Regions from separate parts of the Homo sapiens genome. Here all the other regions are linked to region 1. Evidence: promoter capture Hi-C in 16 types of primary human blood cells and fetal thymus (Javierre and others, 2016). All regions are on one chromosome and are shown on one strand. The core of a region is centred on a gene start or on the middle of the fragment in contact, and the rest is flanking DNA. Distances in the headings are between cores, read along the strand shown.

What was found. Contacts are between HindIII fragments. The CHiCAGO score rates a contact against its expected background, and 5 or more counts as called.
Region 2: a fragment that was not itself captured here is called in contact with the fragment with the promoter of PCF11 in region 1 in 1 of 17 cell types (fetal thymus); the score reaches 6.6 in fetal thymus.
Region 3: a contact is called between a fragment that was not itself captured here and the fragment with the promoter of PCF11 in region 1, in 1 of 17 cell types (activated CD4 T cells). The highest score is 5.1, in activated CD4 T cells.
Region 4: a fragment that was not itself captured here is called in contact with the fragment with the promoter of PCF11 in region 1 in 5 of 17 cell types (fetal thymus, naive CD8 T cells, non-activated CD4 T cells and 2 more); the score reaches 11.1 in fetal thymus.
Region 5: a contact is called between the fragment with the promoter of DLG2 here and the fragment with the promoter of PCF11 in region 1, in 2 of 17 cell types (fetal thymus and erythroblasts). The highest score is 10.9, in fetal thymus.
Region 6: a fragment that was not itself captured here is called in contact with the fragment with the promoter of PCF11 in region 1 in 1 of 17 cell types (M0 macrophages); the score reaches 9.3 in M0 macrophages.

What each region holds. Positions count from the first base shown.
Region 1 is chr11:83,155,360-83,159,859 of GRCh38, reverse strand. It overlaps PCF11 (PCF11 cleavage and polyadenylation factor subunit), which reads right to left and starts at 2,729. Exons shown (of 16, transcript NM_001346413.3): 1 at 2,229-2,729. The coding sequence starts at 2,420. RefSeq lists silencers at 1,564-1,623, 3,074-3,153 and enhancers at 2,424-2,673, 1,970-2,759, 2,824-2,873. The HindIII fragment of the contact is 1,033 bases long and covers 2,647-3,679 here.
Region 2 is chr11:86,073,207-86,077,706 of GRCh38, reverse strand. No RefSeq gene overlaps it. Among named protein-coding and RNA genes, the nearest start is that of PICALM, 6.4 kb to the right of the region's middle. The HindIII fragment of the contact is 905 bases long and covers 1,723-2,627 here.
Region 3 is chr11:85,755,913-85,760,412 of GRCh38, reverse strand. It overlaps SYTL2 (synaptotagmin like 2), which reads left to right. Exons shown (of 20, transcript NM_206927.4): 2 at 2,299-2,788. The coding sequence starts at 2,688. Among named protein-coding and RNA genes, the nearest start is that of SYTL2, 53 kb to the left of the region's middle. The HindIII fragment of the contact is 947 bases long and covers 1,757-2,703 here.
Region 4 is chr11:85,656,937-85,661,436 of GRCh38, reverse strand. It overlaps CREBZF (CREB/ATF bZIP transcription factor), which reads left to right. Exons shown (of 1, transcript NM_001039618.4): 1 at 1-3,447. Among named protein-coding and RNA genes, the nearest start is that of CREBZF, 5.9 kb to the left of the region's middle. The HindIII fragment of the contact is 4,467 bases long and covers 1-4,382 here.
Region 5 is chr11:85,624,094-85,628,593 of GRCh38, reverse strand. DLG2 (discs large MAGUK scaffold protein 2) reads left to right here and starts at 1,250. Exons shown (of 28, transcript NM_001142699.3): 1 at 1,250-1,376; 2 at 1,841-2,007. TMEM126B (transmembrane protein 126B) reads right to left here and starts at 1. Exons shown (of 5, transcript NM_018480.7): 1 at 1. RefSeq lists enhancers at 204-393, 534-583, 664-823, 696-1,204 and a silencer at 3,143-3,343. The HindIII fragment of the contact is 9,013 bases long and covers 1-4,500 here.
Region 6 is chr11:85,601,416-85,605,915 of GRCh38, reverse strand. The region is part of intron 2 of DLG2 (discs large MAGUK scaffold protein 2); the gene reads left to right. Among named protein-coding and RNA genes, the nearest start is that of DLG2, 24 kb to the left of the region's middle. The HindIII fragment of the contact is 478 bases long and covers 2,476-2,953 here.

The DNA.
Region 1 (4,500 bases), core at 1,480-3,979:
TTTTTCGCTACTGCTCTCTCTTGGGAGGAGTCAAATTAAGTGTGAATCCTTTAAGTTTAGTAACGCAGAGAAGCTAAAGAATAAGGACACAAACATTCACCTCCAAAACACAAAACCAGGCCAGTTTGCTACCAAATAACGGAAATCCCTCCCCTCACCCTCGATCCCAACCCAGATTAAGATAGATCCCCCAAAGTGACTTTTACATCTTTTCCTCAACCTGGCTTTACAAAAATAACCAGGAAACGTGTGCCCCCAAAATTTCAGCTGTCTTTTACCAGCAAAGAGCTCATCTATTTTCATCACTGTGTAGCGATATACAAACACAAGTTTTATGTGGTCACTATATTCAGCATTTAGTTTTCGGTTCTCGAAGGTCTTCCGGATCCATTAAAAACCAGCAAGGTTCTTTGAGTGACAACCTGAGCTGCTAAATATTAGGCGCTGTGGAATATTAAATCCCAAGATACGAGGTAATTAGATTTTAAAAATCAATGTTTTTGCCTTAAAAACACAAGTGCTTTAAGGCATTTAATGTCAAGTTAAGCCTTCAACAAGGCAAAAACTAAGTTTTCATGTCCAAGATGTTTGTGGTATCAATAAAAAGCATGTTGAGTATGACGAATGCTTCCTTTTTAAATCTCACACTTAAAAAAAAAAGCTGTTTTACATACACTTTCACAGGAAAAAGTGAACGAAAACTTGTATCTTAGCTGTCAGACTGAGCATGATAAACTTGTTGAGGTCCTTAAAAGGAAAAAGAAAAAAAACCCTTCCTTTTCGTCCTCTTTAAATTATGAAAGGACCACCTGAAACCGTGTATCTTGTGAAGAGGTTTACCCAAAAGAGTGGATGGAACCTAAAGAAGAATGAACCCAAGTCACTTAAAGACTTTTGTTTAAAACACACAACCACGTAGATAAAAATAAGTCTTGGAAACAGATTCTACACCTTACAAAGGTAAATAAAAAAGACAAATACATATTTTATATGTTTTATTCACAAATTTTATAATACCAGTCACACATTTCAAAACCATTTATTAGAGTCAGACCACTCAAGTTTTACACTAGACAGAAACCGTCTCTAAACAATATATTGGTGGTTGTTGTTAAAGTGGCCTTTAAAAAGGGGTTCACTCTGCTAAAAGGAGGCTCATCCTGATAATTGCAATCACTAACAACTAGAAAAAACTAAACCGTGAGTACAAGCTTGAAAAATAAAATGTAGCACTGGGACGCTATTAAAACTCATTGTAACTAAGTTGAACAGTAACTTTACTTAAATGACATATCGCTCCCATATGAATCCACAGAAGAGGAGGACTACAGGGAAATATAAGGTGGCAGAGGACCACTTCTGTCAAGGGGTAAAGAAAAACACTCCTTCGCTATCAGGGAAGGGAGAAAAAGAGAAAAGGAAGAGGAGGAGGGACTGAACTTTTCAGAGAAACTGCAAGTACTTGTTACCCTCTGGGCCAGTTCTCCACCTACAGGTTGGATAAGATCTCCTCCCCCCACCCAAACCCCACCCTCAACCCCACTTGCCCCTATTTTGGGACAAATTAGACCCTCCAATAGGAGAATAAAAGTTTTATCTAGCCGCCCCCACCCCAAAATGGGGCTGACGGGAGTGAGCAGCTGCCTGGCTGGCAGGGAATGGATTCTCCTCTCTTCCCTTTCGCATCATGTGCTTTTCAGGCGCCATGTTGGGCTCCTAACAGGCGGCTGCTCCACTCGGGGCCAAATCCCTATTCCCACCCACCAACAGCTCGCTCCCAGGTCCCCCTTCACCTCCTTCCAACCCACAGAACACAATTACCAAAAAGGGTGCTTGGGGAAAATGGGAGACCCACTCTCCCACTTCCCAGGGAATTAAAATGGCTTATGTTAACTCTTACTTCCCCAAACCACAAACTGCCTTTAAGTCTCCCCCACCCCAAAGGGCTCTATTCAAAGCGTGTGTGTGTCGGGATATACAATGCGGTGGCCTAAAAAGGGAGTTGGAAAGCGGAAGTGGGACTCCACCCTTTATCCTCCCCACTCCCTCCCCCCCAGAGGCCCATGCTCGAAGCCTGGGCCAAAGACCGAGCCTGAGTTGGAGGGGGGTGGGGGGGTTGGAGAGAAGGAACACTGTCCCCCTTGGGATGGAAGCGAGACCTGGGATGAGGCTGACACTAAAATCAGGGAGTATTAGAAGTAATAGGAGGCTGCGGGGTGTATAAAAACCTTGGCGGTTTGGGCCTCGATGAGAGAGACGATCTCCTTGGCGAAGGGCAGGTTCTCCTCGGCTAGAATGGTCAGCATATTGATGTGCGGCTTGCTATTGAAGGTCAGGTCTTCGAGCGATGACTGATAATCCCGACAGGCGTCCTCCCGGGCCCCCGCAGCACCGGCCTCGGCCGGCGTCTGCTCTGACATTGCGCCGCGGCCCCCCTCCGAGGTCCGCTGCAGCTGAAGCTGAAGCCGCTCTGGATACCCCGCCTCCCTTCCGACTCCTCTTCCTCTCCCCGGCTCTCTCGCGGCTCCGGCTTCACCACATGCTGACCGCGGAGGGGGGATGGGGGACGACACAGGGGGAACCTCGGGTATGAAACGCCGCCGTCTCGCGGGTGATCTCCGTCCACTTCCAGCCGCCACAGAAGCTTCTTTCTCCACAGACACAAAATGGCGGCGGCAGTGGCGGCTCCAGCTCCGAAAATGTCTGTGTTCCCAACCGCTGCGTCGTGCGAAATGAACTAGGGGAGGGGAAATGTGCGGTAAAAGGGCGGGGCCACTGATAAAACCAGGCGTGATTGGCTGTCCCGGCAACGTCACGAGCCCCGCCCCCGGCCCTTCCGCAGGACGCCCTGGCACCGCCTTCTTCTCCGGCCTCTACCCGGACTTTCGCAACATCTACTGCTCGGAGGCGCACTGGAAAAGACGGCCCTTCTCATTGGCCGATTCATAAGGGACTGTTCGGTCATTTGTTACCATAACAACCCATTCAGGGAAGCCAATAGGCCTGGGAAGGCAGTTCCCGCGGCCCAACCCAACCACTTTGAGAAGAAGACTCAGCCGTCCCCTCTTCGTCCCTCCCTCTAGCTTCCCAGCCACTGAGCGGGCCTGTCAATCATCTTTCCTCCCGCCTGCCCCGTAGCTGCTACCGACGGTGGGGGTTGGAGGGAGCGGGGGTTGGAGGGAGCGGAGGCTTTCTGCCGCCGCACCCCCTCTCCCTTAGCGTCTCAGGTGCTCTGGAGAGCCAGGGCGGGTCCAGCTGCCCCTCTGGGAACTGGGAAGTGGGAGGGAGGTGCCCAATTTACCCGGAACTTCGGAAAGCACTGCTGGAGAGTTTCTTCCAGCACGCCGCTTCCCACACCCACAAAAATACCTAGGCGAGCTTGCCTGACTTGAATCCCCAGGAAAATGCCTTTTATTTAGAGATTAAGTGTGAAAGGCTTTTTCCTTGGGGGTTTGGAGGAGCTCTTTAAGGAGCCCACTATGAGCTCTAGGAAGAGTTTTTCACAACAGCCACACCCAGCTGGACCGTAATATCTCCACTGTGAATCTGCATTTCAGAACCTCCTTAGCATACACTATTTGGGGCACGTAGGAAAACACACACGCGCATGCACTTTTGTTTTAAACTTGTGGGGCTGTCTTCCCAGGTTGGAAATGATGCTCGTAAAACACACAAAGCTTTCAAATAGTTCACCGTGGAGCTGCGACATAACACAAACCAAACGTAATTTTTTCATTGAGTAGCGATATTGACCTAAATATAAGCTTTTAAAATGTGTCAATTACGGGCTGGGCGCGGTGGCTCACGCCTGTAATCCCAGCACTTTGGGAGGCCGAGGCGGGCGGATCACGAGATCAAGAGATCGAGACCACCCTGGCCAACATGGTGAAACCCCGTCTCTACTAAAAATACAAAAATTAGCTGGGCGTGGTGGCGTGCGCCTATAGTAGTCCCAGCTACTCGGGAGGCAGAGGCAGGAGAACCGCTTGAACCCGGGAGGTGGAGGTTGCAGTGAGCCGAGATCACGCCACTGTACTCCAGGCTGGTGACAGCGAGAGTCTGTCTCAAAAAAAAAAAAGTGTCAATTACCTAAAATTGCTTTTCCATTGCCTTCCGTAGGCTACTAGGCATTTGAGAGATAATTTGTTGCTCCCCAGAAGAAATTGCTCTTAAAAAATAAACTTAGCCGGGCATGGTGGCGGCCGCCTGTAATTCCAGCTACTTGGGAGGCTAAGGCAGGATCACTTGAACTCGGGAGGCAGAGGTTGCAGTGAGCCGAGATCGCAACACCGCACTCCAGCCTGGGCGACAGAGTGAAACTCTCTCTCAAAAAACAAACAAACAAACAAACTACTCTTTACTTGTCCCATATAAAGTAACATTTTCATTTCTTCTTTTTGTTTCTTTGAGTTTTTTAGCATCTTTATTGTTGTCTAATTGAAACATAATGAACTGCATAAAGTGTGCTGCAAAGGTTAAGTTTTGACATGTATTTTCCAT
Region 2 (4,500 bases), core at 926-3,425, 2.9 Mb before region 1:
GGTTTCACCATGCTGGCCAGGCTGGTCTTGAACTCCTGACCTCAAGTGATCCACCTGCCTCGGCCTTTCGAAGTGCTGGAATTATAGGTGTGAGCCACCGTGCCTGGCCAACATTTCTTTACCATGTAAAATATAGCCGTAGGTTTCAGGCATTAGGACCTGCCATCTTTGGCAGGGAAGGGACATAATTTAGCCTGCCAGCTCCATACAAAGATCATGAGAAAACCTGCTGATTATAAGCAAATCTGGATTTATTAAAGTTACTAATAAGGAGAAGCATCACCATAACAAAATTTTAGTCTCAAAATGTCTCAAAAGGGGGAAGTTAGGGAAAGGTATTACTTACAGGATTTGAGAGGAGGCTGGTGTTAATCATAGGGGGGAATTTATGGTGCACGTTAGTAGCCAGTGCAGGGATTGGTTTAAATTTGTCAACTAGATGAGCTACTAGAGCATATGTGTCTGCAGAGTTACAGTTACATCAGTTCATCTGTGGTTTAACTTCTAAGTCTCTAAGCAAGTTGGTGTTAGAACAACAAGGGCTTCAATTTTGTGTTTGTGTTGCATGTCACGGAATGGTACAGTTGATTCATTTTGCAAATCATTATAGTTTTTGCTTCATTTCTCAGTCTCCTTTCTTTCAGCCAATCTTCAACCCAAGCTGGAAGAAACACCATCATTACCTGGGACGTGATCAGTCCAGATCTGCATTGCTATTTAATAAGTTGCAATGGTGTATTGAGTTTTTCATGGTAGTTATTTTGACCTCTTTATGAAACCTTCTCATCCTTTTTGTTGAATGAACATCTGTAAATTATCTAGTTTAACAGTGGATGTGCAGCAGCATTCAAGACTCTGATGATCATATATCTAGTAACTGCAATGCAGACAGACACTAAGACAAAGATGATTATAGAGTTCACAGGGTATTTCAAAGCCATAGTCCCAGGTTTTCAAAACTGGACAATGGAAGCATGTGCCATAATCCATTTAGATCTTCCTTATATAATCAAGTGTCTTTTACCCTTTAATTTGGGTAGGGTTTGTTCAACCTTACTGCTGTATGAAGAATTGGTCCCATATTTGTTAATTGTCAAATGTCTTGGGAATACCATGAGTAAAGGACAAAGGTGTTCATTAACAATCAAAGACCTTAATCCAGAAGAGGGGGAATAAGATAGCCAAGAGGATAAAGATGCAAAGCCAAAAGGATAAACATATAAAGAAGAACATGGCAATTTATGCCCCTGGGAAACCCTCGATTCCTCCAAGCAGAATTCAGTGTTCCTTTTCTCTGTTCTTTTAATACTGCATGCAACACCTCTATCATAGTACTTAACACACTGCGTTGGCATTTTGTCTAAGTCATCTCTGTATCCTGAGAATGTAGCAGAGTACTTTGCTCATAGCAAATCCTGGGTAAATATTGATTAATCTTATTTTTGGTGTGACAACTGTGTGTCAAGCATTGCACCAGTTTTTTTGTATACGTTATGTTAATCCTAACAGGAAATCTGCAAGATATTTACTATTATCCCTGCGTTATGTATTAGAAAGTGAATAACTTGCCCAGAGTTTTGAACCTAAGTTCAAGATCTAATGTGTCTGACTCCAAATTCAGTACGTCTCCCATTGCTTCAAATGAATTAATAAATCTCCTTCATTTTTCCGACAACTACTGGTCAAAACTCAATATCCCAATATTAACATTAGCATTAAGCTTCTGATTTCATTTTAGCACAATGTTGCATGTTCTAATACATTTTTACTTGATTCATCCTCTTAGGTTACAGAGAAAAATGGCCCCCAGGTATGTTAACATCTCATGTGTACTAATTTTATTCTGCTTCATAGGGAGGTTGTTTGTGTGTGTGGTGTGTGTGTGTGTGTGTGTGTGTGTGTGTGTGTGTGTGTGTTTGAGACAGAGGCTCACTCTGTTGCCCAAGCTGGAGTGCAGTGGCCCAATCTTAGCTCACTGTAACCTCAAGCTCCTGGACCCAAGCTATCCTCCTGCCTCAGCCTCCCAAGTAGCTGGTATTATAGCTGCACACCACCACATTTGGCTAATTTTTAAAATTTTTGGTGGATAAGGAGTCTCACTATGTTGCCTAGGCTGGTCTAGAACTCTTGGACTCAAGTGATCCTACCATTGAGGCCTCCCAAAGTGCCAGAATTACAGTTGAGAGCCACTGTACCATGCCTAATTAGACAGTTTTTTTATGATGATTCAGGGTCAAGGTTTGGTTAATTTTCCCTTTCAAGGGAAGGATTGTATTTAACCGCCAGTCTAGACATCATCTCTGAATAACTAAAAAAGTCCAAACATATTGTTATTTTGAAATTGTAAAAGTAATATATCTGAAAGAAAGGAAAGTGTGGCAGGAATGTGTTAAAGATAGTAAGAGAGCCTCATACTTGTTAGAGAAGCTGGAGATTACCCAGATTATTGTTTTTGTAGCCATGCTAGATGTAGCAGTTTGTATTAAAGGGCCATATGGAATTTTTATGAAAATTTTAGAAGTACATGAAATAGTTCCACGACGAACACAAGCAGTGAGAGCCCAGCTCTAAAGTTAGGTAGATCTGAGCTCCAATCCTACTTCCCCAACCTAATAGCTGAGCAAGCTTAAGCAAGTTACTTAACTTTTCCTAAGCTTTAATTTCTTTATCAGTAAAATGGAGAGAAAAGAAGTGTATTAGGTAGGGTAGCTGATCACTGTAACAAACAGCATCAAAAATCTCAGGGGCTTTATTTATTTATTTAGAGACACAGTTTTGCTCTTTCGCCCAACCTGGAGTGAAGCGACGTGATCTCTGCTCAATGCAACCTCTGCCTCCGAGGGTTCAAGCAATTCTCCTGTCTCAGCCTCCCGAGTAGCTGAGATTATAGGTGCGTGCCACCACGCTCGGCTAATTTTTGTATTTTTAGTAGGGACGGGGTTTCGCCATGTTGGCCAGGCTGGTCTCTAACTCCTGACCTCAGGTGATTCACCCGCCTCAGCCTCCCAAAGTGCTGGGATTACAGGCGTGAGCCACCGCGCCCAGCAGCATAATTTATGTTTCTGGTCATGCAGTTCTCACAGGCAGCATTCCTCCAAGGATTCATCTATGACCCCAGGCTTCTTCCATTTTGTGGTTTTGACCTTCTCTAGATTCTTTGAAGTCTTCATTCAGCCCGCAAGTAGGGAAAGAAAGAGAATGTGGAAGATTTGTAGGAGGTTTTTGAGACCTTATGGGTCAAGCCTTAAATGGCTTTCATTATTTCTGTCCACATTCTGTGGGACAGAAGTCAGTCACAAGACCCCAACTAATTGCAAAGGAGGCTGGGAAATGTGGTCTAACTATGTGCTCAGGGGGAAAAGGACACAGTTTGCTGTCTCCTCCACTTAAGGTCATGAAGTTGTTTTAGGGTGTAACTGAGATAATGTATGTAACATGCTTAGAACAGGGTAAGTAATCAACAAAGTTATGTATTATTGTCAAAAATATGTATTCTGGGAGCCTGAATAAGTTTCCTGCAGTTGGAAGTGGAATACAGTCATACATCACATATCAATGGGGTAAGTGCTGAGAAACGTGTCATTAGGCAATTTTGTCGGTTTCAGAATATCACAGAGTGCACTTACACAAGCCTAGATGGTATAGCCCACTACACACCAGGATTATATATTATAGCCTGTTACTCCTAACCTACAAACCTGTGCCACACATTACTGTACTGAATACTATAAGCAACTGTAACAAAATGGTATTTGTGTAGCTAAACATATATCTAAACATAGAACAGATACAGTAAAAATATGGTATTATAATTTATAGGACCACCACTGTATCTGTGGTGTGTTGTTGACTGAAATGTCACGCGGCACATGACTTTATTTGTTTAGAGGTTCTAGCAAGGGAACTTAGCTATGAAGAAAAGTCCTTACCTTTTTAAGGTTATGTGAAGTTATGATCTCTAACTGATTTGGCAGCATCAGGAAGTGTAAACACAGAAAGGTGAGGGGGGAAGGGTTTGCCATGTGTTCATATCAGTTTAGTTAGCTTAATATCAAAAGATTATAATTTAGATAACAAAGTGTTATAATAAAAGTAAAAATTCTGGTCAATTCTCTCTTCCATATTCCTTTTCTCTGCCACTTTCTTAAGTCATTGACGATGACTTAAGGTTCCTCAGGTGCAGCATACTTTTACCTATTTTCTCCTTTGTTAAGACTTAGACACTAAGATCTCTAAGAACAGAGGCCCTGTTTGTCTTGCACATTATTTTATCATAGCGTCTAGAAAAGCCTGGCACATGGCAGGAAGGCAAGAACTATCTGTTGAATAAATTTAGTCTATATTGGCAGTTGCTTCAAGTACTGGCTAAAGGGTCTGGGCAGAGTATTGGAAGGATAATTATTTTTTAAATCTTGCTTCTGCCACTTAGTATCTGTGGGATTTTGGAAAGTTACTCAATTTCTAAGACTTGGCCGGGCACGATGGCTCACGCCTGTAATC
Region 3 (4,500 bases), core at 981-3,480, 2.6 Mb before region 1:
AGACTCACAATCAAGAGAGACTGAGAGTAGATCATCACAGCAGTGGATGTGTATTTGGAGGAGAAAGTGTTTGTATTAGCAGGTTCCTGCTGCGGGAGTATCGTATAACAACTCCCAAACCTCAGTGGCTTCCAACAACAAATACTTAGTTTTTTCTTTTATATCTATAGGTCAGCAGGGATACCTGCTTCAGGGAGGTCAGGTTCAGGTCTGTCCTTTTATCTCTTTCTGGAACCCAGGATGAAGAGGCAATGAATAACTGGGACAAGCTCTTCTCATGGCATGTGGCAGGAATACAAGAAGCCAGATCAAACCACAAAAGCACATTTACAGCCTATGCTTGCATCACATTTGCTAACATTCCATTGGCCAAAGCGAGTCACAGGCCAAGCCCAACATTAGGAGGATAGGGATGAATTCTTTGCTTACTCTGGTGGGAACATGATAGTATAGTTCTGTTACAGGGAGGAAATGAAGAGTTAGGAATAATCATTGAATCTGCTGCAACTTTAACTTGGGGTATGGAAGTTATGGAAGGCTTCATGGAGGTGGTAACTTTGATTTGTCTTGAAGGGTAAGTAGTTTTCAAGATGAACAAGCAGGTAGTAGCATATGCAAGCACATGCAAATTAAAAAGAAAATGAAGTAATGTCTTAATATTTATTTGAGTAATTACTGTGGACAGTATGCAGAGAGCTAGAGGAAATTAAAACAAAGGTCATTAGATTCCCTGTCAATGAAGCCCAAACTTCATGGGGGGAGATCAGAAAGAGACATAATACAAAAGAGAAATATATTACTAAGTATAGTCTTATTCAGCTGGATGGAAAAAAAGTGTGAACTCAGAGCGGAAGCTAGAATATAGTTTTAGTAGCTATTTTTGGTACAGAATGCAAGACATGTGCTCTTTTTATATTCATTATTTCATTTAATCCTTACAATCTGTGAGGGACATCCTAATGTCAAGCACAAATGAGAAAACAGCTTCACAGTGGTCGGTAACTTGCCCAATGACTTATAGCTAGTAAGTGGTAGAAGGATAACTTCCCAGTAATTCTGTTTTTCAAGTAATTAATTTTTATAAATTTTATTCACTAATGTACATACTGTTTTATTCTTAAGTGGGGCTGCTTTAAAATTTTTTTTTCTTTCTTTTTTTTTTTTTTTGATAAGGAGTCTCACTCTGTCACCCAGGCTGGAGTGCAGTGGTGTGATCCCGGCTCACTGCAACCTCCGCCTCCCGGGTTCAAGAGATTCTCCTGCCTCAGCCTCCTGAGTAGCTGGGATTACAGGCGTGTGTCACCACACCCAGCTAATTTTTGTATTTTTTAGTAGAGACGGGGTTTCACCATGTTGGTCAGGCTGGTCTCGAACTCCTGACCTCAGGTGATCCACCCACCTTGGCCTCCCAAAGTGCTAGGATTACAGGCATGAACCACTGCACCCAGCCTGCTTTAAAATTTACTAAAGGTTTTTAGTGTGTATGTTCAGCACTGCACTTGTTAAAAGTGCCCCAACCTTGAGTGGATCACCTCCGAATTTCTGTAGGGCTGTGTCATTCTTCACTTCTCACTTCCTTCCCATTACATATGTATTGAAGATGCCTCAAAGAAAATAGGATTCTTGCACATTGTGCAACTGAAAAATCCTCACTTTGGATGGTGAGGTGTTTTGAAACTCTGCCTCTTCCTTTCCTCCAGTTTATATACACACACAGGTAGGTGTTTTTCCCCTGAGAAATGAAAGTAGACAAGCTTGTTAGGTTCCTCTAGGTCCAGCAAAGGTTAGCAGTGAGACTGGATGAAGAATAACAATTCTCACTCTTCTGCAAACTATCTCTATCTAATACTAGTTCTCCTGTTAATATGGAGCACATATATAGTACAGTGGAATATTCTTACTTGTGAAGAGGTGAGCATTTAAAATTTTTATTTCTAGATTCTTGCTTGACCACTGGAATCACATATCCCTGATCTTACTGACCTTTAACATGACTTTTTAGCCTAGCATCCCCAGAGTTTGCAGAGAGAGAACCAGTTCATTTTTGCAACCATCCTTTACTCAGGTGGATCGTTAAACACTGACAGGCATTTTTGTGGGTTCTCCATCTTGGCCGTCTGGAATAGGGTTGAAGCATGTTTCATGACCCATTTACCATTTGCTCAGGAAGCTGGCTGAACTGGTTTCCTTGATCTCAGAGACCATCTCGCATGGCCATTTAAAAATCTTGTAGTAATGAGTAGTGCTTATAGGAACTGCCTCTCACTGTCTGGTGTTTGCTGTCTCATGATTCCCCAGGTAGGTGATGCTCTGATGCTGCTGCCTCTTATGAATTGACGACAGGTGCAGAGAGAGAATAAACTGTGTCTAAGACTGGACCAGAGAGTGAGTGTGCTGGAAGCCACCATAGGAACAAGCGACCTGTTTGGCAAGGAATACAGCATCCTTCTGAGAGCCTCTTCTCGACACTATCCCACAGACCAGGACTTCCTCATGGGAAAGAGCACTTAGGATCTTGCTATCAGCTGCCCTAAACTTTTGCTGAGCCAAAATAAGACTTTGATGCAGAACTGAACAAGATATTTCATTTTTGTGTGTTTTAATCTTCCTGGTTGCAGTCTTAGTTGTTCAGCCCTGAGAATTTTGAGCCACATTTGTTGCTATTATTTTTGCATGCACTTTTCAAAATGATTGACTTAAGCTTCCTGACTGAAGAGGAACAAGAGGCCATCATGAAGGTTTTGCAGCGGGATGCTGCTCTGAAGAGGGCCGAAGAAGAGAGAGTCAGGTAAGAGGCCAGAGAAGCCTTGGGCATGAGGGAAGGAAGAGGCAGTCTGTACGAAAATAGGACACTGGGGTTTTTTTCAACTATAAGTGGTAGTTCTGACTCGAAGACTGAATTTATGGATTCCAATTTTAGGTTTACTTCCTGGACAAAACATTTTTCCTCTTGGTGCCTCTTAATTTATCCTACTGGACTCCTACCAGAAATAGGGTCTTGATTAAAAACCTAACTAAATTCCTTTAACTTATTAAATACTGAGATAAAAATGAAATGTATACAACCACATACATCTACATTTGTGTGTGTGTGTGTATTTCTATCCACTTAAAAAAACTGGATCTACTTTTTTTTAACTGAATCATGAACCAAATTAGAATTTTAAAAAATTTTTAGAATTTTGAAAAGAAAATAAATTAAACTAGCTCACATTTCTGCATGCTTTCAGAAATGTTGGAATTGGTTTTAATGGCAACTGAAAGTATTCTCTGAGCCAATTTTTCATTTGTCTTGGGTCCCATAAAGAGGAGTGGCAACTTTGATACACTATTCTTGTTGGGTGGAACCCAAATGTTCCATGTCAACATTCCTGCCACTTTCATTCACCTTTGTTGTCAAACAAGCACTAGGCCAGGATGCTGAAGAACTTGACTTTGTCCAGGCCCTGCCATTTACTGCCTGTGTAATCTTGGGCTTTGAAGGCAGCGACAGGCTTCCTGAATGTAAGTTAGTATTATTAATTTTATGATTCTCGCTCCAGGAGTTATCCAAAAGGAGCATAAGATATGTTCTTACTTCCTGGGACACAGGACCATGAATAATGGCTTTATTTTTACCATTTCCGTATCTTGACACTGATTTAACGTGGATGATTTATAAAAGAACATGCTAGAATTCACTTCAACCACTACAGAATGTCTGATTATGACTACTAAAATAACTTCTATATAGACAGTATTTAACAAGTTGCAAAGGGCTTAACATGCCCATTATTTTTTATGAGCTCACATACTCTTTTGCGGTTGGTGGGTGGAGTGGGATATAATTACCCCATTTGATGTGTCAGGAAGTTGACTTTGAGACAAGTCAGGTGACTCGCCCAATATCACACAACTGGTAGGTGTCAGAAGTGAGAATCAAATCCCAGTCTTAGGTACTCATTTGTTAACTCCACCTCCTCTCCCTGAGAAAACAATAACAGACAGGCCATCCCAGGACCTGGCAATGGAGGAAGGGGCTGGCTGTCATGGTGTGAAGTAGGACACTGAGCTATGATGACAAGCAGTGGCTGTAGGTAGTGGGGATCATGCTGTTCCTCAAAGGTCCCTTGCAATGCACACCTGGATGGGGCTCTGCTGTGCCTTCTCCGCAAATGGTGTGCCTTAAACAGTGTCCCCAGGAGAGGTGAAGGATTGTCACTAACCCAGGCATTAGAGCCTCTTGGTAGCATTAATCCTCTACCCATTGACAGTTTATAAAGCCCTTTTATGAATGTTATCCTCTTATGTTCTTCACAGCAACCCTGACATTTGGCAAAGCAGGGACTATTGCAACCATTGAGGAGTAAGGGCAGGAGGTGGGGGAGCATAGAGAAAATATTGATTCTTTAAGCATAAGGGGAAATGGTATTTCCTTTACCCTCCCAAAAGAAAAGATTGGGGGAAGGACTTAGAAAGCAGTAGAGCTGGGACTGCACTGAGTCTCTCTTTCTACCTCAG
Region 4 (4,500 bases), core at 900-3,399, 2.5 Mb before region 1:
GAACTTTTGAAAATGGAAGGATTAGTATGGCCTATTTTTAAAGCTGCTTTGTTAGGTTCCTTATGTTTTATTAACTGTCTTTTCTCAGTTTCCATTTCATTTTTTTTTTTCTAGTTTTGGTGACTTAGTGATTTTGTCATTTTTTACATCAACTTCATGGTCTTGTTTTTACATGGTAATTGCATGTACTTAGGATCTATCTAATAGGGGCTTTAAATAAATTTGGTCATATTTATGTGTAAGCACATTTTACTGTAAATGTTTGGGTTTCTGAATTTAAACAGATCTGTTTATTTCAGTATGTAGTAAACAATATCTTAAAGTGTCCGATTCACTACTTGTTAATTAAAAAAGTTATGATTAATGTGAAACTGTTGTCTTACTATTTTTAGAAAATTGTGTTCTGGATGATTAGCACATGGATAAAGGAGATTTCTGGAATATAAAATGGATTGTTTTTGAAATTTCTAGGTTTGGCTCTATTTACTGTAATGGTTGAAAACAATTTAGTATTTGGGTGACCCTTTTGTTTTTCTTCTAAATGTGCCTCTGGTAAAATACAGAACTAGACTAAAGATGTAGCTTTTTAATATTTGTCTTTTGATGGTGGCAGGAGTTCATACATTAATTGAACTAACACATCATATTTTGACCTACTATTTCTATCATATTGACTTACTGTTTCTGCACTTCTTTGACCAGACTTATCTTAAAAAGTCCACTTTTGTTAAAATGTAGTCACACCTCTGATATAATCCAACAAGAAGTGTTCAAAATATTTTAAATATTTGTGCATTTTATAATCACTAAATTAATCTCTCTCTCTTCTCTTTGAACAGCTTAGCAGTGTCTGCAAAAACGAATCTTTTCCTACAACCTGTTAACTGACTGGACTGTTGGTAACAAAGTAATTGTGAGAACCATGTCGGTCAAAAATTTGGCATCTGCTGAAAAAAATGAATGCCATTTTCAAGTTCCCAAATTACTTCTATACTGATTTCACTTTCCAGAAATGGAGATATGAAAAGATTCTCTGGAATCCTTGAAAGACTTAATAGAGATACATGAGACTAAGTTAATCTTGGAACAAAATTATACTTTTTTTGTCTTTCATGGGAGTGATACTCAGTTATTGCATATCTTTACAAAATTGTAACCTTTGGAGAATTACAGTATTTCATCAAGAAATTAGAGTTTTTACATAATCAAGAGCATATTCTATGGAATTAACATTTAGTGGACTAGAATTACATAAGCAGGCCATCAGTGATCACAAGGCATATGAGTTTGTATTTATTTCCTGGAACATGAGAGCTAATTTGGAGTACAGACAGACACCCTGCTGAGTAGAATATAAAAGTTAATGTAAAGTTCTGAACTATAAAGAGTAGTCCTTTTAAATAGATGCATTGATTTGTATATCTTTGAAAAAGTTGATTATGATTAAATGTGTGGGTAGTTAATTACAATTTAGGGTAACAACCAGGATGTATGGATTCTTGAGGTTTTGGCTTCTTGAGCTTTCTCTTGAGTACTTGATACTGTTTTCTGAATATTTTGAGGTTTCTAATTAATGGTATGCTAGTTTCTACTGTTTTATATAAAAATTTATCTAGTGTTGTATAAGGACTTTAGTATTGTGGATGATGGGAGTGGCTTTTTGTGGCATATGGTTGTTTTAATTGAAATATTTTTTCAGTTTATTACAAGTGTGAAAAAACACTCAAAACTCTGGATTGTTTTATTTCATTTTTGTTGGATTATGTTAATACATTCCTTCACGTGGTTTAGATTGAGTCATTTTATCTCACTTACTTGGAAATGTGCAGCTGATAGAAGAGGGATTGGGTAGGAGATTGGCTTTTACTTCATAATAAATATACAGTTGGTTATTGTATTATTCAAAACTTATTAAATCCATTCAGTTTCTTACCATTTTAAGTGTATTCAGTGCCTGTGAAGCCAGGCAGCAGAGTATTCCCACTGGCTTAAAACTTAGGCGCTGATGCTCCTACAGTACAGCTAGTTATAATTCCAGAACCAAAGGCACCAACATTATTTGGTGACCTTAACTACTACTTTGATAGAACAGACTGGGTAATTCACTGATAATGAGTCATTACCTTTTTAATATGTGATTATCTAGTTCAGCATTTTGAATGTGTAGTTTAAGGTCTGATTTAGTAAAATTTTAAAGCTAAATAATCTGATGACTCTTGAAAGTTTAATTGGTAGTATGACATTTATGTTTTTTTCCCCCAGACTCACAGCCAATACAAAGTTTTGAGACTCCTAAATGTTAATATTTTTGCTGTTTTTCTGAGCTGTTTTTTTATTTACTTACCACCTAAGCTGCGGATCAAAAAGGGAATTCTTCCATTAGAAATTTGTAGTGTTGTGTGGCCAGCACAGTATTTTTCAGATTTGAATTTCAGTACCTCTGTGTAGCCTCAGTACTCTCAACACCAGTCACTCTTTATTGTCTTAAAATATTCCATACTTTTTGTTGACCCAAAATTGTTGAAAATATTTTGCTCAGTTTTCACAATGAACTAATTGAAAAGTGTAGTTACTGTGTTGTAAACATTTGTGTAGTTCTGTTAATACACTGATTTGAATTTTATTTATCTCAACTTCCTTTAGCGTCTGCCTCCAAATTTTGTCTTTGCTGTATACCCACTGAGATCAATTCCCTAGACCCCTCTGGCTCTTAGTGTACTATAATTTGGGCTTTATAAAATATATTGTCTTAATTTAAATAGAATGTGAGCCCTCTTTTTTTTTTTTTAAGCCAAATAACTACACAAAGTAAATTATAAAAGATTTAAATAGTTTGTCTACAGTGACTAGACTGAAATATAAAAATTGATTGAGGGTAGTTTACTTCAGGTGTTAGCTACAAATGACTAAATGTCCTTAAATAATGCAGATATCTGCCCTCTGAACAAAAATTTTGGCAAAGTAAATTTGTAGCAACAGACTTAACATGATTTATTGCTTATGTTGCCCATTTCTGCTAATGGAAAAGATAATTTAAAAATATGTGGCAGAGGACAGATATTAGAAATACTTTTTGGTTACAGAAACCATTGTAAACTCATCCTCATTTATAAATGGTATTATGCTAGGGAGTAATTGGACTAGGAATGTTTAAAGATAAGTAAGGAAACAATGTGTGCTCAATCGTCAAAGAACTTAGTTATATCATTGGGCTTTGAATTATCTAAGTTGATTACATAATTCTATATTCTTAAGGAGTCTTAACTCGGTACTTGGGTTAACGCCAGAAATTACTTTTAATTCATTGTTTTTTTCACTGGGATGAGTAGAACTCTGCTTTTAGTAAAAGTGACAGAATATAGGTAAAATGGATGATTTGGGATCAGAGCTTTTCATCTTGATATTTTAGCCTGTAAAATAAACAGCTATATTGTTTTGCCCTTTAAATGTTATATATATTTTTCTGTCTTTCTTTCCCTAGTTGTAAAAGTAAAGCATATTCTTTATAGAAAACTTGGAATATCCTGAAAGGAATCAAGAAGAAAAGAAAAATCACCCTTATAACTCTATAAGCCATAGAATATCCACAGTAAACATTTTGGCATGCTTCCTTTCAGTCTCTTGTGCACATAGATTCTTTTGCCTCATAACTGGGATCATTTTTTATATAAGTTTGGTAGATAATATATTTTATGTGCCTGTTGAAAGAACAAATCATCTTTGCTTTCTGAAAAATTGAGATTGTATTTTATTAATTTCACATGAGTTTTTCATCTTTGGCAGCACAGCTTTATGTTTTTCTTTAAACAGAAGCTAAAGGCCAGTTTCACTCACAAAGATGCCTTTTCTAAATTATAATTTTAAGTAGCATAAGATGACTTAACAGATATGTCACTATTTGGAAGTAATAATTAAGAGATTCATGAATAATCTTGGATGCCACTTAAAATTTTGTTTGGTACTTTTCTGTGATGATTGGCTTGCTTCATAAGTGTTGGTTTAGATCTACGCTGTCCAATACTGTAAGCATTAGTCACGTGGCTAAACATTTTAAATGGTTTAAAAGTAAAAATTCAGTTACTCAATTGCACTTGCCACATTTCAGGTGCCCAGCCGCTACATAGGCTAGTGGCTAACATATTGACTGTGCAGATAGAAAATATTTCCATCATCACAGAACGCTCTGTTGGAGAATGCTGATTTAGTTGCTGTCACAAAATAAAATGGTTTAGAGAACTAGGATGAGAAATGTTAGGAGAACAGAAGAAAGCACATCAAAAATTTAAATGATCTTAGGAAATGAACCAACTAGGATATTTCACTGAGGGTCAGAGAGATTAGTTAATTTTGTGATTCTAAATATGCCACAATAAATGGAAGCTTGAAAGACTACCTAAACTAAAAATACAGCTTTCTAAATAAGGTGACTCGAAGTAGGTAGGTCTATATCATAATAGCTGAAGCTGAGCCTGAATGACTCAAGAAGATGATTGATTTGAG
Region 5 (4,500 bases), core at 1-2,500, 2.5 Mb before region 1:
TGACTTGCCGGTGGGCGGGGACCCAGAACGCCCTGGGCGGGAAGTGGTGCTGATTTACGGCTCAACGCCTCTCGATTGCAGCCCGGGCCCGCCCCCACTCAGTCAAAAGCCGCGCCCTCCATCCTGACTGTGATTGGGCGCGGCGTCTAGAAATTACGGCCACTTATTCGCTTAGAGGAGGTCCAGGCGCCTGTGGGCCTGCCCCCCTCGCCAGCCGAGTATTTCCTTCCCTGACTATTTATCAGCTTAGCTCCCTGATCTCTTCGCGTCCTGCGGGAAAGATGGGGCGGCCCGAATGTTGTAATGTTACTGCGCTCCTGCCTCTCCTCAGGGCAGCTGGGAACTAGCTGCCTGCCCCTTTCAGTCCTTGAGGGAACTCGCCCCTTTGCCCTGGCCTGTGTGGTGTTAAAGCTCTGTTTCTCGGGCACCTCCTCCTCCAAACCCCGGACCAGCCGCCCAGCGCCGTCAGAGCAGCCCCGACTAGCCTCCTCTCCTCTCAGCCGTCTGACTCCTCTCCCCAGTCTGTAGTCCCCTCAATTTGCATCCTTTAGCCCCGCTTGGAAAGAGACCGGAGAGAAATTTGCCCACTACCCCCGCGAGAAGACCCACTTGTCAGCCGTGTCTCGGGGTGGGGGGCACTGCAAGGCCTGGCGCTGTTTTGTGCACGTTAAATGCCCAGCAGTATCTCCCAGACCGGCAACCCCCGACCCTCCAGTCTCCATGTCTTACAGAAGCCAAATTCGAGAGTTATATAATTTCTAGTGCTGCTGTTGCTCCTGCCTGAGGAAACACTTCATCGCGTGGAGGGTGCAGGACATTTCAGTGCTCTTCCCTAAAAGAACGGGGCTTGGGCAGGGGTGGCCAGCGGTGGCAAAGAAATGTCTTGTCTTTTCTGCAAAAGGAAGGTGGGTAGTTTGAAGAGAGATTGAGAGAAAAGGTGGATGTGAAAGCCAAGCAGCTGCACTTTCTCATTTAGGAAATCGCGGACCGTTTACATAGCTTATGCTTACATGTCTAATACTACTACGGCGTCTCTGAAAACACCTTTGGGGGAAGGTTTGGCTTCTCTCGAAGTCTCAGTGTTTTTCCTCGCCGGATAGGGAGCTGCTTGAATGCGAAGAGATGGCATGATGTGAATGACTCCAGTGTGAAGAAATCTGCTTCGCCAACTCATCCTGCATCAAGTGCCCATTGAGTAGCACTGTCACTTTAATGTCTCCATGCCAAGGGATTGCTTTCCTTTTTTTTCAATCCTCTCGGTTAATACATGGGAGGATCAGAATCAGAGGGGCATTAAGGATCAAGCCTGGGGGCTTGGAGAGCACAGAAGAAAAAAATGAAAGGGACAGCAAGCTGGATTCTGAGTTACTGAGGGGGTGAGATCCGGAACTTCTGATCAGTAAATATAAGGGGGCCTTTCAATGTGTGTTCTGCCACAGAAAACTGTTCAAACTCACCTATCTTTTTAGAGACTGGAGTCAAAGAGATTTTTAAAAGTATTTTTGGGGAGGTGGGGTTACATTTTTCTCTACAGATTTGAGTATCTTTATCATCATCTTTGAATTTGACCATGTATAAAGTAATGAGACCTGTCTAAATTTGGTTTGTGCCTTAATTGAGTTAGTCATTGAACTTCCAAAAATGTTGCTGCCTGAAGAGGAATTTCAGTAACGTTCTTCATGTTTACAATAATTTTCCCAGTTTGTAAAAACAGTCTAAATATTTTCTGAAAATTGAAAAACTTGAAAAACTAAAAAATTACGTTGCTGTAAACTCTGTGGGCGGTGTAAAAAGTTTAGTTGTGGAAAAAATACATCATTATTTTCTTTGTCTGACATAGAAGACTCAGCCTGGATTTCAAAACTGAACACTGAAGTGGTTTGCAACAGTTACCTGGCTCTTGGCCTCAATCCAGCTGGATCAAACTGAGACCTGAAAAGAGATATTGACTCCTGTGGCAGTGGAAAGACCCAAGAATGCCAGTCAAGAAGACAGGTGGGCCATAAGGTTGCTATATAATATTTCTCCCTTTTGTTGGTTCTGGTACTTGTAATTTAAATTATATTCCATTTGAGAGTAAAGTTTTGCTTCAGTTTGGGGGAAATATTTATTGTAATATAGTTTCAGTGGTACATAATTCAGTAATATTATTTTACTAAAGTAAAAGGAAGCAAGACTATAGTATTTATTGATAGATATTTATGATTTCATAAATCAGGTTGTTTATATCACCGTTGGTAATAAGAATAGATTCAGTACCGCAGATTTGGAGTCTCCTTTAGCTTGTTTTCTTAGCTTGTTGAAGGTTACTTTTAAGCAGTCTTTAAAAAAGAAACTTGTGCAGTGGAGCTCTTCCTCATGGGTTTAATATTTATCAAACTAATTACAGAATTGTGAAAGGTAGCAAAGTAATTTCATTTGCACTGAACAAAATTACAGCTTTATAATTTATCTTTTGGTTAAAAAATAGACTTATTATTTGGATTTATTCTAGTGTAAATCTTCACTTTTGTGATAAAGCACAACTTTCGTGACTATTGTGCTTTTCCAGATATATGCATTATCCAATAACATGATTGTCAAGTTCCCCAAATGGGGCAAACACCTGTTTTTTTCCTCCCTCCTCAACAACTTTTATTATTGGAATTGATCAAGATCTAGTGAATTCCTGAAGCATAGTTGATTATATTCTGAACTTGGGGATTCAGTTTAGCTTAGATGCACCCCAGGTTAACTTTGTTCCAAAGGATCCTAGTTTGGGACTGTTTTTGTTTTGTTTTGTTTTGACATTATATGGAAGGTGAGATCAACTGTAAAGAGTTTCTCAAGAGTTTTGAATCAAAACTTATATGAACAGCCTTGAACTCTGCTATACTGGACTAATATAGATCCAAATGTTGTCCAGTTATGTGAGTTGCTACAATCTGAAACTAAAGCTCTGGGTGAATTGCAGGTTAAAGTGGAACTTATCTCTGCATGGTGTTTAATTCTTCTACCTGTGGATTTGTTAGGGATGTTGAGGAAACTTATAATCACTGAGATGCCTTATCCAAGCTGATATTTGTAGAGATGGACAATGATATATAAAACTTTTGGAACACCTAGAACTGTGATATTTGCACACTGGGATTTAAGATTGGGATTGTTTCCTCCCCCTGCTGTTTCTAATAATACCACTGACAGAAGTAAACTGCCTGAGATTTTGGAGCCACACTTGTCCAGACCAGACACAATTGGTTTATCTAGAACAAGAATGGTTTTGGGAATGTAGCCAATAAATGATATGGCTCTTTGACATATTTAAGTTGATGTGTGTTTTTATTCTTTCTACCATTTCTCTAGAGAGTTTCTTTTGGATTACCTTATTTTGAACTAATAATGGAATTAAACACATTACGTGTGTGTGTGAGAGAGAGAGAGACAGAGAGGAAAAGAGTGAAAGGAAGAGAGAATGGGAAGGAGGAGAGACAGAGAAAGAGATAAAAAGGTATGTGGGAAGGAAGAGGAGGAAGGTCAATTGATATTCTAGGTATAACTTAACTAAGCAGGTTTAGTTAGAAAGTTTAGAACTTAATGTTTCTAAACCCCATAAACCGAGTTTCTTAAAAGTTCTTCCCTTTAAAGAACTGTTACAGAAATTGCTGATACATTGGTGAAATTATAATACTTTAGAAGAATTTCCTTTCTTTCCTTCTTCCTCTCTTCCTTTGCCTCCCTCCTTCCCTTTCTTCTTTCCTTCTTCAATAATGAATTGACTAATGGATTGAATTTTTAAAGGAATCAACAAGTTCTTATTAGAAAAACCAGTTTATATTTCTATGATACCAGAGTATATGTTGTATATTTTCCTTATAAACTGATCTAGAGAAACAATGTATCTTGCTTTTAATCTCTTAAAACTGCTAGTATTATGATACATATTCTTGAATATTATAGACAACTAGCCAAACAAGTTATGTGTATATTGTATTTTTCATTGGCTATGCTTACTATCTCTACTGTTTATATAATATAAGAACAGTATTTTTAAGTTTAACCTAGATTTATTCTGCAGGGATCACTGTCCTCTGTCACCTTGAGTCTTTTTCTCTCTTCATTGTTTCATGTGGTAGACATGACGAAAAAGCTAGACTTAATGTGATTCTAAACAATAACTATCCTCACTGAGCCAAGTGTTTATTCATTGTTGAACATATTCTCATTAAAGTATGAAATTTTCATAAGATGGATTTTCATTTGGTATTTAGTTAGTATATTTTTGTCAAAGAGAGAGGAGATTCTTTTACTGATACCATGCAACCATGGTGGGAATTGGGAATGGGTGTGACATCTCACTAAGCCCATTTCTAGGTGCCATTCTGGACTGCCCTTGGATAAGCTGAAACTACTGTGCCTCAAACCCCATATTAACTGCTCGTTTGCTTTATGACATTACTTTCTACTTCTCTCACTCTAGTCTCTTCGCATTTTTACAGATCTCAGTTTTATCAACAGAAGACT
Region 6 (4,500 bases), core at 1,465-3,964, 2.4 Mb before region 1:
ACCTCCGCCTCCCGGGTTCAAGTGATTTCCTGCCTCAGCCTCCCAAGTAGCTGGGATTACAGGCACCCGCAACCATGTCCAGCTAATTTTTGCATTTTTAGTAGAGACGGGGTTTCACCATGTTGGTCAGGCTGGTCTCGATCTCCTGACCTCAGGTGATCTGCCTGCCTTGGCATCCCAAAGTGCTGGTATTACAGGCGTGAGCCACCGCTCCCAGCCGTGATAGCATTCTTATACTCTGTTTTAATCTTTCACTTTGTTGGAATTTCCTAGTTAATTATCTTTATTTTGAGACTAAAATCTCTGTGAGGGTAGACTATTGCCTATTTTGTTCAGTACTGTGTTCCCAGTGTCTGGATATAGTAAGATAGTCAATAAATACTTGATTAATGGCTGAAATAACCTTTTTCTCTATCTACCAGACTTATAAAGGTAGGACCATTTTTATTTATATGTTACAAATACAAATTAAAAGACTAAATTTGAACATTTGTGATTCAACATTTAACCCTAGATTCTAAAATTCAGTGATACGATTTATGTCTGATTGGTCAAGTTTTATTTTATTTTTTCCATAAAAATATGCTCATCTCCATTTCTGGAGGATTAAGGGTGGTATTGTGGAGAGAACACTATACTTGGAATCAAAAGCTTTTGGATTAAGCTCCAAATCTGTTATTTAGTAGCTGTGTGATCTTGGACAAGCCACTCTGAGTTTCAGTTTCATGTAAAATAGGTATGACTTCTCAGTGGTGAGAATCAGATAAGATAATGCATTTAAAAGTTCTTTTTAAACTGTAAAAATGTTGAATAGATTTATGTAAAATAATTTCACTATTCTAAATGCTTTATTTTCCAAAATTTGCCTGTTAAATTCACCTTTTCTCTATTATACTTTGATCTGAGTTTTCCTAATGATACCACTGTATGTTCTGTAATTCTTCATTTTTTAAGCCATGGCAAATGATTTTATGTATCATCATTTTCTTTTCTCTAAAAGTTCATTTGTTAGCACTATTGCCAATCACTGTTTCAAATTTAAATTACCTGTCCCAAATTATTTATAACTTTCTGGTGATGCTATTCTTAAACCATGTACAATATAGAGTTGAACCTTAATTAACAGACACATGATTACCTACAGTTCTAATTATGTAACATTCACTATCCCTTGGTTGCATATTTCATGCAAAAATTTCTTATTTTAAAAAGTGATTCTCCCTTCCCCCCCATTTCCTCCTGTGCCTGCCCTCAAGTAATCCAAATTTAGCTTTTTTTTTTTCCTGTAGACTCAGGAGTCTTATGAAGGTAGAGTTTAATGAAGAAAACAGGAGAATTGAGGCAATTTAGATGAAAAATTCTCCACTTGGTTATTTGAACATCAATTAAAATATGAATCTTGACTTGCTTGGATAATTATCTCAGCTTTCCACTTTATTCAATTTATGGAGATTAGGTTAGGGATTTTTAATTTGTATGAAAAGATCCTTGCCATTTGTCTCATTTGTTTAATTTGTCATTTTTAGATTACCTTCAAACTTTCATTAACCAGAAATAAGGATTTGAGTAGAGAGAGTTGAAGAGCATAATAGAATTGACTCCAGGTGATGATCATTCTCAATAATCAAAAGCAGCATAAAAGGGCAGCCACAATTCCAGCCCTAGATGCTGGTGTGTGAAAGCCTAACTTGGAGACTTGATTATATACGACCTTTTAAAAATATTTTAGCATTTTTTATGTGTCAAATTTTTATCCTACAGCGATGAGAGGCATAGTAAGCTCTGCTGGTTTAGAAAACATCTAGCTGTTTTGAATCAATACAGTATTTTCCCTTTATAGTTATTGGATAAATATATGCTAAATGAGTGAGTGAAATTCCCCTTACTTATCTAATTATATTTGTAGATGTGATTGTGGGAATATTGTTAATACATTTTTGAGAATTGCTCTTAATTTTACTTATTTACTTAGAGACAGGGTATTTTACTTATTTATTTAGAGACAGGGTCTCACTCTGTAGCCCAGGCTGGAGTGCAGTAGCAGGATGGTGGCCCACTGAAGCCTCGAACTCCTGGGCTTAAATGATCCTCCCATCTCAGCCTTCTGAGTAGCTGGGAGTGCAGACGTGCACCACCACACCTGGCTAATTTTAAAATTTTGTTGTAGAGAAAGGGTTTTGCTCTGTTGCCCAGGCTGGTCTCGAACTCCCGGTCTCAAGCCATCCTTCCACCTTGGCCACCCAAAGTGCTGGAATTATAGGTGTGAGCCACCGTGCCTGGCCAAGAATTGCCCTTTAAAAGAATAAACGACTAGGGTAATACCTACAACAATGCCACAGAAGCTTAAAAAAAAAGGCTTTAGTTATAATTGTATTAAAAAAAAAAAGAGAGAGAAAAGAAAAAGGTGCTCAGCACTTGTAGGTTTCCCGAAAAATGTCGGCAGACTTTAATGAGGAAATGAAAAAGACTAAAGCTTTGGGCACTAGAGGTAATCACGTGATTAGAGCCCACAGATACATATAAGTAGAGAGAGAGGTATAGTATAATTATTGTATTGTTGATCACCTACAGTGGTAAGTAAAGTAACTATTTATATTTGTAAATAGTGTGTAGGGATGGGTTAGAAAGTGAGCCACCATCATTTTGGGGAAACTGCTGATTGTTTAATTATTGACAAAATGGGGATTAAAATATTTGTCCTTGATTCAGAGTTGTTAAAACATTACGCAAGTAAAGTGTGAAATCATTTTTAAAAATTAAAGTTTATGCAAATATATTAGCACACATTTATATCACCATTCTTTGTTAATATAAATTGGAGTGAGCTCTCTGTTCATCCACATTTATTTCTATATTTCTAATCTTACTAGATAGAAGAGGAGTAGTTACGCAATGTCCTCCTCCATCTCTTATTGCCCAATTGAAATTCTCATTTCCTTCAAGGGGATAAGCTTGAAGTTTGCTATGTTATATAGGAGTATTAGGGAAGGCCTTACTACTAAGATGATATATAAGCAGAGATATGAAAGAAGTGAAGGAGCAAGCTTTATGGATACCTGAGAGAAGAGTGTTATAGGCAGAATCACAAGTATAGAGGCCATGATATAGGAGAGTTCTTGATATATTTGAGAAACAGCATACTGTGGTTGGAGTAGATTGAGCAAGAGGAGAGGTCTAAGAGCTGAAGTCAGAGAGGTGGGCCTTTGCTCTGAGTGGGATGGGGAGACACTGGAGGGTTTGAGTTGAGGAATGACATAATCTAGTTGATGACTTGAAAGGATATTTTTGGCTATTGGGTTTAGAAAAGACTGTAGGCCAGCCTGGGCAACATAGTGAGACCTCATCTCTACAAAAAAATCAGAATTCAAAAAATGATTTGGGAGGATCACTTGAGCCTGGGAGGCTGATGCTGAAATGTGCAGTGATTGCCCCACTACATTCCCATCTGGGTGACAGAGAGAGATCCTGCTTAAAAGAAAACAAAAAACAAAACAAACAAACAAAGACAGAAAGAAAAAAGAAAAAAAAGAGAAAAGACTGTAGGAGGGCAAAGGTGACAGCATGTAAACTAGTAGAACATTGCAGTAATGTAGGGGATAGATGATGATGGGTTGTGCCAGGGTGGTGGCACTGGAGGTAGGGAGAAGTGATGGGATTCTGCATATAATTTGATGTTGGAGCCCACAGGATTTACTGATGGATAGATGTAGAGAATTAGAGAAAAGAATGAATGCTGACTTCAGGAATTTGGGTCTGAATAATTGGAAGGGTGAAAGATGGAGATACATTGGAGGAGAAGCAGACTGAGGGTGGGTGGATAAGATCTGGAGTTCAGTTTTGACAAGTGAAGTTTGAGATGCTTATTAGACATCCAAATGGAAATGTTGAGCATTCAGCTGGATATGAGTCTGGAATTCAGAGTAAAGTTCTGAGCTACAGATATACATTCGGAAGTCTTGAGGGTGCTGGTAATATTTAAAACTACGGAATTAGATAAGATTATCAAGGAAACTGGGTAAGATTATCCAGGGAGTAAGATTAAAGAAGTCTTACCATGTTCAGAGGTATTCTAAACATCTTAAGCCCTCATTGAGAAATTAGAGGGAACTAATAAATGTGATTGAGAAAGGGCATCCATGAAGTGGGAAAACAATCTGGGAGAGAGTGCTGCCCTGGAAATAATGGTGTGCTGGAGACGGCTCATGTCAGCTTGCAAGAGCTTATCATTAAATTTTCAGCAAATTTGCAAGACAATACAGCCATTTCAAAAATGTTAAAGCCTGGCACGGTGGCTGACACATGTAATCCCAGTGCTTTGGGAGGCCGAGGTGGGTGGATCACAAGGTCAAGAGATCAAGACCATCCTGGCCAACGTGGTGAAACCCTGTCTGTACTAAAAATACACAAATTAGCTGGGTGTGGTTGCACACACCTGTAGTCCCAGCTACTCAGGAGGCTGAGGCAGGAGAACTGCTTGAACCCAGAAGGCGGAGGTTGCAG